Regions from separate parts of the Homo sapiens genome. Here regions 2, 3, 4, 5, 6 and 7 are each linked to region 1. The links are contacts of gene promoters, found by promoter capture Hi-C in blood cells and fetal thymus (Javierre and others, 2016). All regions are on one chromosome and are shown on one strand. The core of a region is centred on a gene start or on the middle of the fragment in contact, and the rest is flanking DNA. Distances in the headings are between cores, read along the strand shown.

The links. The method cuts DNA at HindIII sites, captures the fragments that hold promoters and counts their contacts. A CHiCAGO score of 5 or more calls a contact.
Region 2: a fragment that was not itself captured here is called in contact with the fragment with the promoter of UACA in region 1 in 1 of 17 cell types (total B cells); the score reaches 5.2 in total B cells.
Region 3: the fragment with the promoter of GLCE here is called in contact with the fragment with the promoter of UACA in region 1 in 1 of 17 cell types (monocytes); the score reaches 6.2 in monocytes.
Region 4: a fragment that was not itself captured here is called in contact with the fragment with the promoter of UACA in region 1 in 4 of 17 cell types (total B cells, naive B cells, monocytes and 1 more); the score reaches 11.4 in total B cells.
Region 5: a contact is called between a fragment that was not itself captured here and the fragment with the promoter of UACA in region 1, in 1 of 17 cell types (total B cells). The highest score is 5.1, in total B cells.
Region 6: a fragment that was not itself captured here is called in contact with the fragment with the promoter of UACA in region 1 in 5 of 17 cell types (total B cells, naive B cells, fetal thymus and 2 more); the score reaches 7.6 in total B cells.
Region 7: a contact is called between a fragment that was not itself captured here and the fragment with the promoter of UACA in region 1, in 2 of 17 cell types (total B cells and naive B cells). The highest score is 8.3, in total B cells.

What each region holds. Positions count from the first base shown.
Region 1 is chr15:70,762,307-70,765,006 of GRCh38, reverse strand. It overlaps UACA (uveal autoantigen with coiled-coil domains and ankyrin repeats), which reads left to right and starts at 1,449. Exons shown (of 19, transcript NM_018003.4): 1 at 1,449-1,677. The coding sequence starts at 1,600. RefSeq lists a silencer at 1,275-1,684. The HindIII fragment of the contact is 4,014 bases long and covers 88-2,700 here.
Region 2 is chr15:69,395,988-69,398,687 of GRCh38, reverse strand. PAQR5 (progestin and adipoQ receptor family member 5) reads right to left here. Exons shown (of 9, transcript NM_017705.4): 7 at 1,124-1,220. It overlaps KIF23-AS1 (KIF23 and PAQR5 antisense RNA 1), which reads left to right. Exons shown (of 2, transcript NR_132971.1): 2 at 940-1,784. Among named protein-coding and RNA genes, the nearest start is that of KIF23, 17 kb to the left of the region's middle. The HindIII fragment of the contact is 7,709 bases long and covers 1-2,700 here.
Region 3 is chr15:69,159,360-69,162,059 of GRCh38, reverse strand. It overlaps GLCE (glucuronic acid epimerase), which reads right to left and starts at 1,425. Exons shown (of 5, transcript NM_015554.3): 1 at 1,303-1,425. It also overlaps the pseudogene LOC100421574. RefSeq lists silencers at 1,046-1,155, 1,356-1,565 and an enhancer at 1,263-1,763. The HindIII fragment of the contact is 10,275 bases long and covers 1-2,700 here.
Region 4 is chr15:69,462,529-69,465,228 of GRCh38, reverse strand. It overlaps LINC02896 (long intergenic non-protein coding RNA 2896), which reads left to right and starts at 2,453. Exons shown (of 3, transcript XR_932420.2): 1 at 2,453-2,547. RefSeq lists enhancers at 1,927-2,434, 2,205-2,499, 2,435-2,700. The HindIII fragment of the contact is 2,925 bases long and covers 1-2,700 here.
Region 5 is chr15:69,442,178-69,444,877 of GRCh38, reverse strand. It overlaps KIF23 (kinesin family member 23), which reads right to left. Exons shown (of 24, transcript NM_001367805.3): 20 at 1-88. Among named protein-coding and RNA genes, the nearest start is that of RPLP1, 9.3 kb to the left of the region's middle. The HindIII fragment of the contact is 4,204 bases long and covers 1-2,700 here.
Region 6 is chr15:69,481,572-69,484,271 of GRCh38, reverse strand. No RefSeq gene overlaps it. Among named protein-coding and RNA genes, the nearest start is that of LINC02896, 20 kb to the right of the region's middle. The HindIII fragment of the contact is 2,170 bases long and covers 247-2,416 here.
Region 7 is chr15:69,420,214-69,422,913 of GRCh38, reverse strand. KIF23 (kinesin family member 23) reads right to left here. Exons shown (of 24, transcript NM_001367805.3): 4 at 1,162-1,267; 5 at 786-922; 6 at 479-588. Among named protein-coding and RNA genes, the nearest start is that of KIF23-AS1, 6.5 kb to the right of the region's middle. The HindIII fragment of the contact is 8,506 bases long and covers 1-2,700 here.

The sequences.
Region 1 (2,700 bases), core at 200-2,699:
TTTTGTAAGACTTATTGATGATGGCTGATAATTTATTGGTGATGGGACAATTAAGAGACTGAAGGTTGGGAGACTGGCTGGGAAGCTTCTGTAATAATAGTCCGGGTATGAGGTAATTTTGGCTCTGCAGTGGCAGTGAGAACAGAGTAACTGACCATACACAGACACTTTAAAGAGCCAACAAGAACTAAATGACTGGAGATCTAGAGGAAGGGGGAGGAATCAAAGAAAATTTTCTTCCAAAGATCTAATCAAGATGAAATTTAATAATATTTTTGGGTAGTTAGTTGTTATTTACTTGTTGTATAGGGTTAACACAGTCTTTGAATGCTGCCTCTCCAAGAAATTCTGAAAACTTTCTTACAGTATTTGAAGAAAACCTTGCGTTACTATAAAGAAACTCTAAAGAGAGCAACTGACCTTTCAGACAAAAAAGAGTCCTTTGTTAGTCAGAAAATGTGGACCGTTTGTCTTTTCAAATGGATGCATGCTACGATAAACGTTTTGCTGGGGGGAAAAATGACTCCAAAGAAGACTTTTGAAGATGTCACCCGAACAGCAAATTATTGGGTGCTGAGCACCTTCCTGTTTCTTCATCCTCTTAAATAATTTTTACTAACCCAGATTTCTAGGTAAGATGATTTAACTTCATCGTATACGTTTACATGTAATGTGTTTCTACAGAAAACAAAAAACCTTTTTGAAGAAAAAAGGGCGTAACTTTTTTTGACAACTTAAATCACTGGCTGTGGGAGTCATTTTTAATTGATGGCACCTCTTCTCCTCCCTCCCCGCCCCCATTCCGTCCCTTTGCTTCCAATACGGCGGATTCTTCACTCAACAAATAAACGAGCACGTAACTTGTACTGTAACTTACTATAACGTCTTTCAAGGTCTTTCTTAACTGTACGTTTTTCTGCACAATCAGCACCTTATTTCTTAGAGACTGTTTATTTCTGGAATTTTTGATGCGTGTGGTGGTTTCCAGGCACCAGGATTTGGTAGTAAAACAGGAGACTGAAAAGAAGTTGCTCCTGAAAGCTGTTCTGTGTGCAGGTAACCAAGAGTCATTTCTAAGACCAGACGGAAGGGAAGGAACTTTACTTGGTAAAGAGCGCGTGGGTGGAAAGAGGAGGGGAGTCCGGGAAGATGAGAGGTGGCAAAGGCGGGACCCCGTGCTCTCTCTAGATCTTAAGCTCCGGGTGGGCGGGCGCCGGTGGCCTGGAGCCCGGCCTGCGCGCATCTCCACGCCTCTGGCCGCCCACCTCCTCCGCCCCTTCCCGGGCTAAAGTTCCCAAACTTTTCCTCCAGCTGGGAGAGGAAGGGTGTTACTCAGTTTAAAAGGGAAGTCCCGCCCCATTCCCGCATTCCGATTGGTCGCGGTTTGCCACGCCCCCGCCAGGGCAGCGGGTCAATTGGCTACGGGAGGGGAGCCCCGCCTCAGGCCTGTCGACGTCTGCTGCCCGGGGCCCGCAGGTGGCAGGCAGGTGGGGCTGGTACAGCCCGCGCCGCCTCTGCTGCAGCCGCTGCCGTCTACTCCTTGCGCGCTGGCACTCCGCAGCCTTTAAGGTTCGCGCGGGGGCCAGGCAAGAGTTAGCCATGAAGAGCCTCAAGTCCCGCCTGAGGAGGCAGGACGTGCCCGGCCCCGCGTCGTCTGGCGCCGCCGCCGCCAGCGCGGTGAGTCCCGCGGTCCGGGCTGCGAGGCGCTCCGCTCCGGGAGCAGCGCAGCCCTCCTTTGCTGGCGAGTTCGCGCGCCGCCTTCCTCTGCTTTTCCTCTGCCAGTTCGGCTTCGGCGGCCCTGGCGACTCCTCCCTGAGGCCGGAGACTCCGTCAGCCCAGAGACCCCGGGGATCCTCCCCGCCGCCGCACCCGAGCCTCTACGGGTCTCTTCCCCACCCCTTTCTCCCAAGCCTCCGAACTTCTGGAAGAAACCTCAGTGGGGCGGTTCTGGCCCCCTCCTCCTAAATCCAAAGTTCCTCGATTGGCACCCCTACTCCGCTCTTTCCGTTGACCCCCCCTCGTCGCTCTCCTCTCCCGGCGCTCGCCCTGCTGCCCACGCCCGCTCGGCCGTGTTGGCTCCCCAGTCCCCGGGGCCGGGGCTCGCACCAGGTAGGGCAGGTGGGCAGGGCTGCGCACCCCGCGCCACCGTGCCCGGACTCCGGACCTTCCCCGGGTCTGAGACAGCGTCAAGCCCTGCCGGGCTGGTGGACGTCCCGTGCTGGCCGCTGTCGTTGTCACTGGGAAGTTTGATTCCCCAGCGAGGCAGAGGGAATCGGCTTAGTCGTAAAGACAAAACCCCACAGGGTGGTGACCCTAGAGGTGGTGAAGTTGGGAGGGGTGGTGGTGATGTGGGTTGTGTAAATCGCACCTGTGGGGCGGGATCCGTGCGGGGCTCTTTCGGTGCTGACCTGCAGCGCGGCCTCAGTGTGCGCGCCAAGGAGTAGTCGGGGCCTCTTTAGTTGGCAGGAGAACAGAAATCTTGAGAAACAGCCTGACCGCAGATGTTGTGATTTAGATAATTTGTCACGTTACAAGAATGGCGATATCATCAAAATTCTATATCATTAAAATAAGTGCCACTTACAAAGTCTTGGAAGAGTCGAACGTAAAGGAGTTGTTATGCTCCAACTGCACAGTTACCTAGTTGGGGTAATTAAAATGAACCTTTACAATTCAACGCAGATTTTACCAAATGATTAT
Region 2 (2,700 bases), core at 20-2,519, 1.4 Mb after region 1:
GAACGGGCTGCAGCCCCATCTTTGGCGCTCTCCCAGACCCACAGAGGCAGAGCACAGAGAACGTGCTCAATGCCCCAGCTGCTGGGTGGAGCTCAGCCCCTCCCCTTGTCCCTCAGCCCTGCCATCTGGGCTTTATTCTTCAAGCCCACAGGACGCTGCCTCTAGGAGGGAGCTTCACTCACCGGGTACTGGACAGGCACCGCAGAGCCTATCAGATCCATTGTTTTCCCCTACAAAGGAGGCCTAGTACCCTTATGTACAGATGAGGAAACTAATCTGAGGCTTAGAGAGTTGTGTGTCCTGCCTGAGGTCACATAGCCAGTGAGCAGTGGGGCCAGAATTTGAACTCAAGCCCGTATGGTTTGAAAGTGCGTGGACTTTCCCCTTCTAGTCCTACTTGTTGTCCCTCCTACACTCTCTTCCTTTATGCTCTCCATCTCTTTCCCATCGCTCCTTTAAGACCCTCATTCATGCCTTTTCCTTCAATACTAACAGTATACTACTTGATGATGGAACAATGCATTCCCGAACTCTTGCTACCAGTCAGCACTTGACATGTTCCCCGTGTAATCCTCCCCACAGCCCATGAGGTGTTATCAGGCCCAGCTTACAGATGAAGGAAATCGAGGCATAGAGAACTGGCCCAGGGACTGACAGCAAGTATTGGAGACCTGCCTGCAGAGCTCGCTCTCCTGCTCACTCCACTCAGCCCCAGGCTGCCTGTTCTATGACGTTCCCGAGCCCCCAGTCATATTGTCAGTCAGGGCCTCTGTGCTTATGTCATCTCCTAACCACTCCTCAAGTGCCACCAAGGCAGCACCTGGGTGTGGGGGAAAGAAAGATATATCAGACTGTTACTGTGTCTATGTAGAAAAAGGAAGACATAAGAAACTCCATTTTGATCTGTACTAAGAAAAATCTTCTTATTTATTTTCTCAGTCTCTCGTCCCACCTGACGAGAAATACCCACAGGTGTGGAGGGGCTGGCCCCCTTCACCTGGGTCTCGACTCCTGTTTTGTTCTGCGGTTCCCATTGCAGTGCTGTGACCCCCCAGAAGCTCAGGAAAACAACTGACTTCCTGGTGTTGCCAACAGGCAGAGAGGAGATGCAGCCAGTCCTTACCCTGTAGAAGATGGGGAGGGAGTCCCAGGTGTACGGATAAGCAAAGGCGAGGACACGAATCACCTTACAGAGTCTGGGCTTCTGGATTTCAAGAAACCTAAATCAGGGAAGGAAAGTGGGGAGGAAATGGAATGAAAAGAGTCTCAGCAAATTGCATACGCACATGCATGCACACCGAGGGCCTGGTCATCAACAGAGGACAAGCATTTTTCTACAAGCTCCTGTGGCCAGCAGCTTCTCCACCAGCCTCGTCCATTCCTCCCACCCCAATGGAAGTGACAAAACTTCAGATGCAAAAAGATCTCCAGGGACACCATCTCCTGACCATGGGAAGCAGTGGTGTCCAGACTAAGCCAGAAAGGAGGCGCTGGGCAGAAACCCTTCAAGGGCCAAGTTATGTAACTGCCAAAGAACCTTTTAAAACTCTAGTTGCTACAGGGACAGGGAACGGGTAGGGGGAATCGGGGGATCCACTGCCACAGACTCTTGGGGGGCACACTCTGCAGAGGCTGAGATGCACCCATCTAGTTGGAGCCCAGGTATTATCATGCAGGAGACCTGGGTTCAAGTAGGTGTTTGACCCTTGGAGAGCTTTCTGGAATATTTATACCACACACAGGGATACTTGGCTTGGGAAAACTAAATAAACGTGAAGTCTTTCCTTCTCTTCTTCATTGCCACCCTCACCCAACCTCCAATCCAAAGACAGCTGACAGCAACATTAAAACAAGTGATGCTGATTGTTGAGAAGAGAGGCAGGTCCCCCCAGACAGAACATGACAGGGCCTCAGCTGACTTGGGCCCAGCCTGGGGCAGCAGCTCAGGGTATGGGGAACTGGGTAGCACAGACAGCAGGCTGCACACTGGGAGGACATGGGGAGGGGCAGGGAGGGTCTCTGCACAAAATCACAGCCCTGAACTGAGGCCTGGGTAAGGAAGTGCTCATGGGCCCTGGCTGGGCCACCAAGGCCAGGTAGTAGGGACAGGTAAAGTCCCCACATCAATGCTGAGGTGTACTGTGGAGGGCTGTGTCCTCCCTTGGGGCCCACAGGGCTGCAGGGTAAGGAACCCAGCACAGTGGATGCACAGCCACACGCTGAGGCTCTTGGGATGGCTGTTCTGATGCAGTCTGTAAAGGCAATGCATGCATCTGGGCCCTTTCAGCCTTTGCTGACAGTTCTGCCCCCTATCACACTGGAGGGATGGGGTCTGTGTCCTGCTGTGGCTCCTATCTCTGCTCCCAAGAACCTCGGTCCCAGTCCACAAGCCTGTTCCTTCTCCTTCAAATGCCATCTGCTGTTTCCTCTGAGCCCAGACCGATTTCACCTGGCCAGGCTGTTCATATCTCGTATGAGCCAGTAAAGCCACCTGACCATAAACCCAGCTGCTGCCTGTATCTCTCAGCATGGAGTATGCAGGGACTTCCACATTGGGCAGTTAGGGAACCCTCCTCAGGCAGGTGCCAGATCTGGTCAGGCCTGGATCCTGGGGACCCAGCACAGAAGCAGGTCTGAGGATGCGGACATTCTCCAGGCTATTGTGCTCCACTCAGTCCTCAGGGCAACCGAGCACAAATG
Region 3 (2,700 bases), core at 176-2,675, 1.6 Mb after region 1:
TTCAAAGGACAGAAAGAAGCCAGACAGAACACGCTTCCCTGCACTATCCGACTCTGCCTAACATTCACTCAGGCAAGACTTCAGAACAGATCTAATCATGCAGGATGAGCAAAGCAGACCACCACCTAGGAAAGCAAGCCAAAATCAGTCTTCCCCACCCTCAACAGATTCCAGTTGCTCAGGAGCTGTATCCACGCTCAACCTGCGGACACCGGCCTCCTAAAGAACCTGCAGACCAAACGCCCACCTAAGGTGCTGCCACTCTAGCTCCCGGAGCTCCAGCGAGACCAGCGCGCCCCCACAGGGATCCCGGGGCAGAGAAAAGAAAACTGCAGAACAAACGCACTGCTTCTTCAACTAGGCAACAACACCGATCAATCCTCCAACTAAGCATTGAGTAAATCTCATCCAGAGAGAAGGAGACCTGAACAAAAACGTTTCAGGATGCTGCCCAGCCTGCGCGGTAGCACCAAAGCCCTCTCCCGCCCTCAGCGGACCCAGCGCCTGCGGAGCCGCGCCCACCCCGAGAGACTGCCCGGGGGCCAGCTAACTCGCCCCGTCGCCCCCAAAAGACTGGAGACCATGCCAAGTTACCGCCCCGCTCCGGGCAAAGCAGAAACCCCGGCCAGACGCTGGTCGCCGCTACACACCCTCAGCCCCCAACAACCCCCCAAGGCGGCCCCGGCCCCAGCGGAACGGATACATCGCTCTCTCACCCGGAGACACCGATGAACAGACCCCTCTCCCCAGAACCCGGACACACTGCTTCTTCATCCCAGCAATGCGAAACGGACGCCCACGCCCGCTCAAAGAACCCCCAAGACCCCGATGATCTGCCTCCAGAGACAAGGTTTACACCGGTGTAAACCTTGCTAAACTGCATTCTCTGCCCCAAAGAGCTCGGGACCCGGGTAAAAAGACCCCTTGTCCCGGAACCCCGCTACACCACCTCCAAGAAGCTCAAGACCCTGATAAATCTCCCTCGACGTCAAAGACCTAGGACCCCGTGTGCCGCCACCCACCCCTACCCCAAGCCGGAAGAGCCCCCAGGATCCCTAATACATTGCCCCCTCACCTCGGGAGCTCCGGCACCCGCTACACCGCCCTTGGGCGCCCGCGCCCGGATCCCACTGCACCGCCTCCTCGCCCCCCGGACTCCCAAACCCCGCCAAGCCTCGCGCCCACCAGGCAGCGCCGCGCAGCCCCCAGAGCCGCCCCCGTCAGGAGCCCGCCTGCTCCGGCTGCTCCGTGTCCCCGCTCCCCGACCGCTCCTCAGCGGAGACGCGCTCCGGGCTTTCTAACCTGAGCAGCGTCGGAGGGCGAGCAGACACGGGAGCCCTGAGGAAGAGAAGGAGACAGCAGAGAAGGGGTGGCTCAGGCCTGCGGTGCCGCAGCTCCAGCCTCTCGGCAAGGAAGCGCTTGTGTGAGGAGAGCCCTCCCGCTCCGCGCGCAGCCGGGAGACCGAGCCACCGCCGTGCCCGCAGCTCTTCCCGCGAGATCCCAGCCACGGCAAGGGGCGGGGCCACGGCGGGGGGCGGTAGCGGCAGCTCCTCGAGTGACAGTCCTGGCAGCCTGTCGGCTGCAGGACGGGCGGCAGGACTCGGAGTCTACTACGACCAATTGTAAAAAAGGAAAGGTGATTCTCCCCGCCCCTTCTCCGCCCCTCTTCTTCTCCGCTCCTCCTTAATAAACTGTGAGCAAAGGTAGTAGTGACCAGAAGTAGTAGGAGGCAGTGGACTTTCGCGGTAAGGTAGCTCGAATGACGTGACGTGCTTGGCTTGTGTGTGGTCCTGCTAGGCCGCCGTAGATACACCTGGTTTGGGGAAGAGGCTGGTCTTCACACCGGTGTAAACCGAGGTGCGGTTACCCTTGGTTACAGCGCTGCCCGAAGTGCGCTGGGGATTCCCATCTTCCAGGTTGAAGGCCCACCCACTCCGGTTACCCGCGTCTAAACCTCCATTTAATTCCTTTCCCCGATTTGGGCCTCTCCTCCCTCTCCACCTCAAACAGGGCACCATTGTTAAGATGCCCATGTTTTCCAAACCCCAACCCAGGACATCTGGTCTGACAAAGAACTCGTCTGATGACTGTATTTATTTCTACATACAGCCTTCCAGAAGAATGAAAAGCAAATCTCGAGTTACCAACATAACAAATTCCAAAATTAATGAAAAGTCGTACCTTTATAGACCCCAGTGCCCAGTAGTATTTGGCACACCCAGGGCACTGAATAATGTGAAAGGAATGAATTAAGACTGTTAAATATATGCAAATCTCGAGTTACCAACATAACAAATTCCAACATTACATGAAAAGTCGTACCTTTGTAGACCCCAGTGCCCAGTAGTATTTGGCACACCCAGGGCACTGAATAAGGTGAAAGGAATGAATTAAGACTGTTATACTTAAATATATTAAATCTGGACCTGGCCCCAGAAAATTCGGCTTTCCTAGCCTTTCCTCTATAATGTGAGCCAGTGGCTTCACCCTTAAATCCAGGCTCTTCATTATTATGCCTATCCTGTACCTTCATTCATCTTACCCTCTTCACTCCCTCACCCACAGCAAGAAGTGCCCTTTCTCCTCAAGGTTAAATCTTGCACCTGTGCCCTGGATCCCAGCCATTCCCAGATTTTATTCAGCTATTCTTTCTTTCCCCATTATTAATTTCTTCCTCTAACCTAAATCTTTCTCCCACAA
Region 4 (2,700 bases), core at 180-2,679, 1.3 Mb after region 1:
CTCAAAACTGGTCAGAGTTCTTCCTTCTAGAACTACTTGGAAGTTGAGTCTCTCTTCCACATGAAACCCTCTCCAATTTTTAAAAAATCAAAACCAGTGTTTTTAATTTAGAAAAGTAATGTATGTTCATGGTCTTTAAAAATTCAAGCAATATAAAAAGGATAAACTGGAAAGTAAAAATATTTCTTCCACCCCATCCAATCCCTGTCCTCAGAAGTAACCACTATAATTACTCTTGAATCCTCCCAGAAGTTTTTTAATACTATAAAACATATGCACATTTTTTTTATTTTTTTACTCAAATAGGGTCATGTTATGCATACTGGTGGCAACTTACCTTTTTTCACTTAACAAGGTGTCCTGGATGTCTTTCCATAGCGGCATTCCTATACATAGCTACATGAAAACATTAACATTTATTCAACCTGCCTATCATCCATACTTTTTTTCTAATACAAGCAATACTTCAGTGAAATTGTACATAGCATAGGTTCCTACAAATGAAATTCCTGGATAGAGGGTAAGCGCACTTTTGAGAGAGAGGACCAAATGACCCTAAAAAAATTGTAGTAGTTCTGGCCGGGCTCGGTGGCTCACGCCTATAATCCCAGCACTTTGAGAAGCCGAGGCGGGCAGATCACGAGGTCAGGAGATCAAGACCATCCTGGCTAACATGGTGAAACCCTGTTTCTCCTAAAAATACAAAAAATTAGCAGGGCGTGGTGGCGGGCGCCTGTAGTCCCAGCTACTCGGGAGGCTGAGGCAGGAGAATGGCGTGAACCCGGGAGGCGGAGCTTGCAGTGAGTTGAGATCGCACCGCTCCACTCCAGCCTAGGCGACAGAGCAAGACTCCATCTCAAAAAAAAAAAAAAAAAAAAAAAAAAACAAAACAAAACTGTAGTAGTTCAAACTCAAACAGGCTGAAGAAAACATTTAAAAATTAAAAAAAAAAATTGGAACTTGTAGTGATGGCACAGTGGCTCACCACCTGTAATCCAGCTACTTGGAGACTGGGGCAGGAAGGTTGCTTGAGCCCCAAGGAGGTCGAGGCTGCAGTGAGCCTTGATCACACCACTGCACTCCAGCCTGGGTGACAAAGCAAGACCCTGTCTCAAAAAAAAAGTAAATTTAAAAAATTCAAAATCCCCACATTATTAACTGTGGTTTTCAGTCTTTAATAAAATAGTAGAATGAAACATTAAGGGGCTGGGTGTGGAGGCTCTCGCCTGTAATCCCAGCACTTTGGGAGGCCAAGGATGGAGGATCACTTGAGCCTAGGAGTTCAAGACCACCCTGGGCAACATGGTGAAACCCTATCTCTAGAAAAGACCAAAAAAAAAAAAAAAAAAAGTAGCCTGGCGTGGTGACATGTGCCTGTAATCCCGGCTACTCGGGAGGATCGCTTGAGCCCCAGAGTTCAAGGTTGCAGTGAGCAGAGATCATGCCACTGCACTCCATCCTGGGCGACAGTGAGATCCTGTCTCAAAAAAAAAGAAGAGAAGAAGAAAGAGAAAGAGGAGGAGGAGGGGAAAGGAGGGGTAGGGGAGGAGGAGGGAGAGGAGGAGTAAAGAAGAAAAGAAAGAAGAAAAACGTTATAGGAATTTACACCCAAATCAACCAACAGCCCATTTTCCCAGGTTTGTCAATATGGCTTTTTATCAAACTGTTAACTTTTCCTTCCACGTTTGAAGACAGCTCTTCATTCATATATTCATTTACACATTATTTCAAACCATATTGACTACGCGTCTTCTCCTCAGGTGCTGAGGAGCTGGGTTTGCTCTGATCCGGGAGTTTCCAGCCCTGACTGACTTATCCTCCCGCTCATCAGAAGAGCTTATGAAAATTCCCGGTGGCTGCCTCGAGGGGCTGGTTCGGTGGGCCTTGGAGGGGCCCGGCAAGCTGTTTAGTTGTTTGTTTCATTCATTTTTGTTTTTGTTTACCAGCTTCCCACGTGATTTAGCTATTTGATAAGAAGCCAAAGGTAGAGCAAATCTTCCCTCTCCTTTCTCTGGGTAAAATCGCCTTCTGGAAATGAAGGCGCTGGGAACGGCTAGAACCCACTACTGGGAAGTGAAGGAAGAGGGATCTGGTGCTCGAGACCTCTCCTGGTAACGCCGAAATCCACTGCTGCTCCCGAGTCCTCCAAGCAACAGCCCGGGCTCAGGATTCCCAACTACAAACGCGCCCCAGCCCATTCCTGCTGGCTAATGAAAGCGTTGGCCTCTCCGGACACACAGGATTCGAAACAGATCAGCTGCCTTCAACCACTAATCAGCTCCTGACTTAAGACATTCCTCCGGGGGACGGAGGGTCAAGAGCATGCGCAGAAGCCAGCTGTCCCGAAGGCGCCCCCAGCGGTTAACAGGCCTCAGCGAAACTGGAAAGTTCGGCTTCCCTCGGCCACACTCGGCCTCCAGCCCCGCCTCTCGGCCCGCCTTTTCCTCCCGGCCCTGCGTTGGTGGGCGCGCCGCGGGCTCTAAAAGCTCGACTGTCGGCCGGGCGCTGTGGCGCACGCCTGTAATCCCAGCACTTTGGGAGGGCAAGGTGGGTGGATCAAAGTTCGCGACCAGCCTGACCAACATGGTGAAACTACGTCTCTACTAAATTAGCCAGGCGTAGTGGCTCATGCCTATAATCCGAGCTACTTGGGAGGCTGAGACAGGAGACTCGCTTGTACCCGGCAGGCGGAGGTTGCAG
Region 5 (2,700 bases), core at 168-2,667, 1.3 Mb after region 1:
TATGATCTACCCATCTGTCTCCTGCAGAGCGTGATCGTCTGTGTCGGAGACGAATTGGTGGTGCGTTCTGATCAGGTTGAAAGAGTAACTGAGAAACAAGCATAACCCAGAATTAATTTAAGGGTATTATTAGAAGTGCAGCAGGTTTGGCTACATTAGTTGATGACAGTATCATAGCAAACCTTTCCAAAGCTAAATATTTTATTCAAGTAATTTAAACATGATCTTTGCATTTAAACACAAAACCAACAAACATCTTTAACACCAACTTGTATGTTACACATTCTATCTGGGAGTTTCCCTTTCAATAAAGGATAAAAGAAAAAATTCTGGTAATGCTGCAAGTCTTTCCTGCTTGGGGGTGGTTCAGGACAAACAACTCATTTCATATTCTTGATCAAAAACCAATATTTATCCCTGCTATTGAGAGGTAATCTATTATGTCCACAACTCTGTTAAAATCTTCAATAAGATCAATGAAAGCCCTACACATTTTCTAGGCTTCTAAACAAAACAGAAAACAATCCTAAGAACATAGGTATAATAAGAACCATATGAATAAAATGATTAAAGAAATGTGAAATACTTCTGAGTGCTTTCAGTTAAGATTTTAAAATCTCATAATAGAACTTCATGAAAAGTTCAAATACAGTAATGGCTACAATATACCAACTAATTTTTCCCCCAAACATTTCATACAGGTTCCAAGAAACAAATAAATAATACAGTGTCAAATCAGTCTCTATCACACAATAAAAGACTAGTTGCTAGGCCAGGCATGGTGGTACATGCCTGTAATCAGCACTTTGGAAGGCCGAGGTGGAGGAATCACTTGAACTCAGAAGTTCAAGTTCAGCCTAGGCAACATGGTGAAACCCAGACTCAACAAAAACAAAACAAAACAAAACAAACAAAAATATATATATATATATTAGCTGGGCTTGGTGACACGTGCCTGTAGTCCCAGCTACTCAGGAGGTTGAGGTGGGAGGATTGCTTGAGCCCAGGAGGTGGAAATTGCAGTGAGCCAAGATCGCACCACTGCACTCCAGCCTGGGCAATAGAATGAGACCCTGCCTCAAAAACAAACAAGTTGCTTCCAGTCAAATGTCATGTAAACCTGGGAATGCTAAATTAAGCACATTCAGCCTAAGAAAATAATATGTCACATATATGCCATAGTTATAGTTTGAAGCAATGAATTATCTTTAGAATTTTATGAACATCTCCTGTTTGTAAAACTGAAAGCAGGGCTGGGTGCAGTGGCTCATACCTGTTATCCCAACATTTGTGAGGCTGAGGTGGGAGAAGGATCACCCGAGACCAGCTTAGGCAATGTAAGAAGACCCCATCTTTACAAAAAATTTAAAAATTAGCCAGGTGCGATAGCACATGCCTGTGGTCCCAGCTACTCAGGAGGCTGAGGTAGAACGATCACTTGAGCCTGGAAGGTCAAGGCTGCAGTGAGCCTAGATGACACCACTGCACTCCAGCCTGGGCAACAGATCAAGACCTCATCTCAAAAAAAAAAAAAAAAAAAAAAAAAAAAAACCCAAAAAACAAAACTGAAAGCAAATGGAAAAAGTCTATCACAGGCCAAATCTGTCAAAGCTAGTCAAGTATGAAGACCTCAATTTCAAAATGCACATCTGAGGAACTGAATCATTTTCGCTATATAGTTAACAAGAAACAAATGCAGCACTAGTGACAGCTCTAAGACATGGGCAATACAGTTTGCCACTAAAGATGCTGAGCCTCAAGACAAACAGGAACTTTCCATTCCTACAATGATTTATTTAATGTTGAACACGAAAGAAAGTCTGGTCCTTATCATCTACCATTTAGCAAAAACAAAGGTTTTCTTCAAACATTTAACAATAAGCATATGATGAAACACACTTCAGAAAGATGATAATCCATACAATCTACTAGCATTTATGAAACAAATATTTAAATTTTTTCCTCACTGAAGTATAAATTCAGTCCACCTGACATAATTTTTGACCAACAAACTTAGATGCACAGATACTAACCTTACAGTAACTTTTCTGCTGCACTTCTAAAGAGATTTTGATTTCACGTAAGAATCTCTAGTAAATTCCCTTAAATATCTCATAGCCAAATTAGATATCTCATTACGGTTTGCAAGGCATACGCAAGCCTTGAATAGTTTTCAGCCTATAAACTTTCATAAAATGACTGACTAGAGTTGGTCAGAATGACCATTTACCTAATTTGCTGTCTAAAAATGTTTAAGGAAAAATCTGCAAAGTAAAGAACTTAAGAGACTTTAGAATCATCTGTTTCCCTGGTAAATAACTTGGGATTCATCACCATCCCTTAATAATCAGGAATTCAGGCCACATAAATGAACATTCATCTATACCCTGACTTATATAAGAAAATCTAAAGTAAATGTTTACTGTAAGATTTAGAAGAAATATTCTAAGAGAGCTTTGTGAAGATTTTACTAAATATAAAATTCGCAAACATTAACTTGGTCCATTTATTCAGATTCAAAAGAAACTTTACCTTAATCTTTAAGAAGAAAAATATGAAAGTGAATTTATTTAAATACCCTTGAATGAGGCAAATGTAAATTGAGATAAATGCCTCAAGATTAAAAGCAATTTATTGGGCATGGAAATCAGTAATTTTAAAATAACTGGCCTAAACTCTTCAATGAAAATAGTCAATGTC
Region 6 (2,700 bases), core at 82-2,581, 1.3 Mb after region 1:
TGAAGCCAACGTGGATGGGGACAGTTTGCAGGAATTTGCATCTTACAGGGCCTTGGGTTCCCTCAGGCATGAAATGAGGACTTCAGTCACGCCCTTTCAGATTTTCAGGGGCTGGGGCCACTGGCTGCCATCTGAGATACATGTTCACAGGGGATGGGAGCAGATGGAAAAGCTAACACGGTGCATCTTCTACTCTCAAAGAGCATCCAGTGTAGTTCAGCAGGTGAGCCAGGCTCCCAGCAAGCTTAGGAGAGTAGAAAGGGGCACAGCGGAAGGAACAGAGAGAATGATGGAAGGAGATGGAGGGAGAGGGAGAGAAAAAAGAATGGGAAGAGGGACCAAATAACACTCTTGCTATCAGAATCAAAAGCAGATGGAGGGCGGGTAAAACAGGACACAGAGAACTTTCTGGGGAGATTGAAATCTTCTGTCTTTTGATTGTGATATATTATACCTTTCCCTTTGCACTGCGCACAGGGCAAGAGACACATTGCACGTGTTCTGGAATTTGGACTCCCACCAACTGCTAATCTGCTCCTAGTTTCATCTCCCCCAGCCACTTGTACCAATGCCCTCTTGACACCACTGCAGACCCCCTTGTCCTTCTTTCTCATCCCTGTCAGCCCCGAAGCTACCAGCTCCACGCAGCTTTGCTTGTTTTGTGAAGGTGCAAGCTGTCCCAGTCTCACCTCTGACTCCTCCCTGCCCTCTTTCATCTGCCCCAGGCTTTCCTGCCTGAGTGGCCCCGAACCCACCTGGTGCTCACCCAAATGCAATGTAGCATAAACACTTCATGGGTTACCCGGATCAAAGGGGGGATGAATAAATGGCATCCCTTCTTTCCCAGGCAGGCAGTTCTGGGACTCATTTTCAGGAGGCTTCTTATAAGGCCCCACCATATTGAGCAGAAGCAAGTCCGTCATGCCTCCTTGGACCAGTTGCCCCCTTCCCAGCTTCCTAGGAATGTACTCAAAGAACTCATCCTGCAAAAGCCTCTGATTTGGGCCCTGCTCGGGGGAAACCAGGCTAGGATACCCTCATCAAGATGTATCTGCAATGCCATCTGGGAAGAAGCACCTTGGGACTGTGGGGTTGGCTTTCTTGGAAGCCAGGAGTGCCCTGAACTCCCCATCCCAGCAGCAGATGCGCAGGCTTTGCAGACCATTGGGCCCCACCTCCCAGCCTCTCTGCTTGGCTCCCACATCCTGACTTGACTGTGTTGAAAGGCCCAGTCTGGTCCCTAGACTGAGTTCTATAAATAGCCAGTAGGTGTGTTTACCAAGAGTCACTAACCTTCCACTAGCAGGGACAACACGATACATTAGTTACTTGATGTTTGGAGGTTGCTTTGCTTAAGGCAAAGTGACTGATCCACCAGACCTGTCTGGTGGCCTGTATTCCAATTTGCCAGCCTGAGATCCTGGCGTAAAGCCCAGAGCTGCCGTCCATCTGGATGCTAGGTGCCTGGGTTCCCAGCTCAGTTCTACCATGGGCACTGTATGACCCTGGAGAAATCTCCAGGCCTCTTTGCCCTTTCCCTGTGAACTGAAAAAGAATGAGACATTCTCCAAAGTCCTTCAAGCTGCAACAGGACTAGAAAATCATACTACCTCCTGTGCTCGGAGAAACAAAGCTCAGGTCTACCCTCAGAACTCCACCCCAGGTAACATTCTCCCTGCACAACCACTCCTTAACAGAACATATGTATCTTCACTCCAGGGCTTGTTGGCCGGTATTTACATGGGGAAAAATGTGTGTATATGTCTCCAAAATTCAATATAACTTTTTTTAAAGGAATAATGTACAGGAAGAGAATTAAGGTGCATTCTAAATACAATTAGTAGACTGTCTGAAAGAAGTTATGTTTTGAAAAACATGAAAGTGGTGGCTAGGCGTGGTGGCTTGTGCTTGTAATTCTAGCACTTTGGGAGGTCAAGGTGGGCAGATCACTTTGGGCCAGGAGTTTGGGACCAGCCTGGCCAAAATGGCAAAATTCTGTCTCTACTAAAAATACAAAAATAAGCTGGGCATGGTGACACACACCTGTGATCCCAGCTACTCAGGAGGCTAAGGCATGAGAATCACTTGAACCCAGGAGGCAGAGGTTGCAGTGAGCTGAGACTGAGCCACTGCACTCCAGCCTGGGTGACAGAGCAAGACTCCATCTCAAAAAAAAAAAAAAAAAAAAAAAAAAGGAAAGAAAGAAAGAGAGAGAAAGAAAGAAAGAAAGGAAAGAAAGAAAGAAAGAAAGAAAAGGAAAGAAAGAAAGAAAGAAGGAAAGAAAAACATGACGGTGACAATGAAGTGGGTGGTGCCGCTTGGCTGTTGCTGGTACTAAGAGAGGCCAGGTTCCTGTTTACAGAGCAACTGCTTGTTAATGTCTATATTAATTATGTGGTGACCAAGAAGCAAAGCTTTAAGCATCTTACAACCTAGTATGACTGTTGGTTACAAATATAAGCATTTTACTGTATTTTAGTTAGAATTTAGGAAATTGGTTAAGGGGCTGGGTTAACCAGTAACAATATAACTTTTTTCCCTTTAAGAATAATGGAAAGACTATAAACAAAAAGAGATGAAAGGAAAGGAAATATGTTCCCAGAAGCATTTTCACACAGAACATCTCATTGTGGGGGATAGATTACTGACATTAAACAGGAGATGTCATGCAGTCTTCCCAACTGACAGGGCAGCTATATT
Region 7 (2,700 bases), core at 94-2,593, 1.3 Mb after region 1:
CAGGAGGATCGTTTGAACCTGGAAGGCAGAGGTTGCAGTGAGCCGAGATCATGCCACTGCACTCCACCCTGGGCAGCAAAGTGAGACTCTGTCTCAAAAAAAAAAAAAAGTAACTGATCCCAAGGGGAAACTAACAGATAAAATAAATATCTGCAATTACAAGCAGAAATGCACAAAGCAGCTTTATTCATACTCATGGTTTGCCAACAGTATTCCCACGTCCTCCCGAACACACAACAATGGCTTTTATACCCTCTCCCCATCCAGAGTGGCACCCTCTTAAAACAGTGATTGAAACAAAATGTGCTCAAAGCCAAAGAGAAAACATCTGAGCAAAGAACTTAAGAACATTCCTTAACTTTAATCTCACAAAAGTCAACTTCTCTATTTAATGTTCACCATTCCTCATGTCTGGGCAAACCACAGGAAAGAATCCTGTGCCCCTAGGCCAGTGCTGCAGACAAATATAATTACTTACTTGCTAGAAGAAGTCTTTGGATTGGGCATAGCTTCTCTTTTCTGACGTTCTAATAAGGCATCAACCTCACACTGTATATCCATACTATTCCTATCATTAGATTTGAAAACCTGAAGTGGGGGCAAAAAAAAAAAAATCACACCACGTTTTTTAGAATTTAACTTAAATAGTAAGAAATATGTTTAAAAACTAAGGAACAGTTAAGGTTTCAAAATGAATCCAGTGCTTTGGTTCTTCTTTACTACTACTGTATCCATAGGTGTCTTAGTCCAGTAAGATAGTCACAACACAAAAGAATCATACTTACATATCGTTTAGCTTGAAATGACCCTATACTGTTAAAGATCATGTCCAAACAACGAGGAAGCAGCCCTCCTTCCCCTGGAGAACCAGTCATTGTGTGAGTTTTTCCACTTCCCGTCACACCATATGTAAAAAGAAGACCTACAGTGTAGCAAGTCACAATGAGTTATATCTTAGAAGTTCTCCACTTAGAGTATTTCTTCACTGCATTAGAAAACACTAACAATTAGCCAGCTCAAAAAAGGCAAGTTTAGCACCACCCTAACAAATTAAATATGGATTCAACACCAAACATAAATCAAATATATAAATATCAAAAAAGTTTTATCAGAAGAGGAGAAAAAGGAAAATCTAACAAAACTCCAAGAGTCATATCATACCATTTTTGCCATGAATGAGGTCATTGACCAAGGGATTAGCCACAACATCAAAGAGTTCCTTCTGGGTGGTGTGAGTGCCAAATACTTGTTTAAATGAATACTGAGTCTGTGGAGAGAGAAAAAAATGCACTAAATAGAATTCCACTATTATCTAGGCTAAAAATACATCTCCTTAAACTTAAGGTGTTTATGACATTTAAGATCTAAGCATGCAAAGAAAAAATATAAATGGTCTTTTTACAGTTGGAACCCTTAGTTATTTAGTTACTAAAAAGTCATGACATACCTATATCATACCAATTATAAACTGGTAAACGTTTTCAGTCACAACTACTAAAGAAAATGTAGAAAACTCTTTTTTTTTGAGACAGAGTTTTGCTCTTGTTGCCCAGGCTGGAGTGCAATGACACAATCTCGGCTCACTGCAACCTCTGCCTCCTGGGTTCAAGCGATTCCCCTGCCTCAGCCTCCCAAGTAGCTGGAATTACAGGCACGTGCCACCACACCTGGCTAATTTTTATATTTTTAGTAGAGACGGGTTTCACCATGTTAGGCTGGTGTCAAACTCCTGATCTTAGGTGATCCACCCACCTCAGCCTTCCAAAGTGCTGGGATTACAGGCGTGAGCCACCACACCTGGCCAAAAATGTAGAAAAGTCTTAAGTCTACTAATGCTTCTAATCTAAGGCTGATTTTGTTTTAATTAAGTGACAGAGATCAAAAGGTATTGTAACGATTCATAGTCACAGATTTGTGGAAATCTACAAGCATTATGTCATACACAACTTTACTGTTTCCTAGTTTTTCTTTATAAAGGTGTCATTTAAAATAGCAAAGCATGGGCATAGTGGCTCACACTTATAATCCCACTTTGGAAGGCTGAGGCAGGAGGATCACTTGAGGCCATGAGTTAAGAGACCAGCCTGGGCAAGCTCATCTAATAAAAAATTTTAAAAGTAAAAACAACAAAAAAACCTCACCAAAAAACAGTGAGCTGTGGTCACACCATTGCACACCAGCCTGGGCAACAAGTGAGACCCTGTCTCAAAAAAGAAAAAGAAAAAAGACATATAAAATAAAATGGCATAGCAGCATAATACCACGTTTTGATGTACTATAGTTTAAAACCAGAAGTAAACTGTAAATATTATCTCATCTCTGAGTTCTTACATGAAATACATTTTAAATAAATTGTGACCTTTAAGAAAGCAAGAATACTTCAATTATCAAGGCTCTCTAAATACAATTAATAAAATATCCTGTAAAAATCAGCTTTAGAGTTCAAAAAGAACAAAGAATCTTGGAACTGAAAGGATACACATAGGCTAATACTGAGAAGATAGATGACCTCACAGTCCTCATGAATGACTCCCTCCTTTCAAGGTAAAGAAAACTGAGGCCCGAAGGTGAAACTTCTCTGAGCCCATGGAGTTAATTAGTATCAAAGCCATCATCAGTGCAATGTTTTTGTTTTCTTCTTTTTTTTTTTGAAACAGAGTCTCACTCTGTCACCCAGGCTGGAGTGCAGTGGTAGGATCT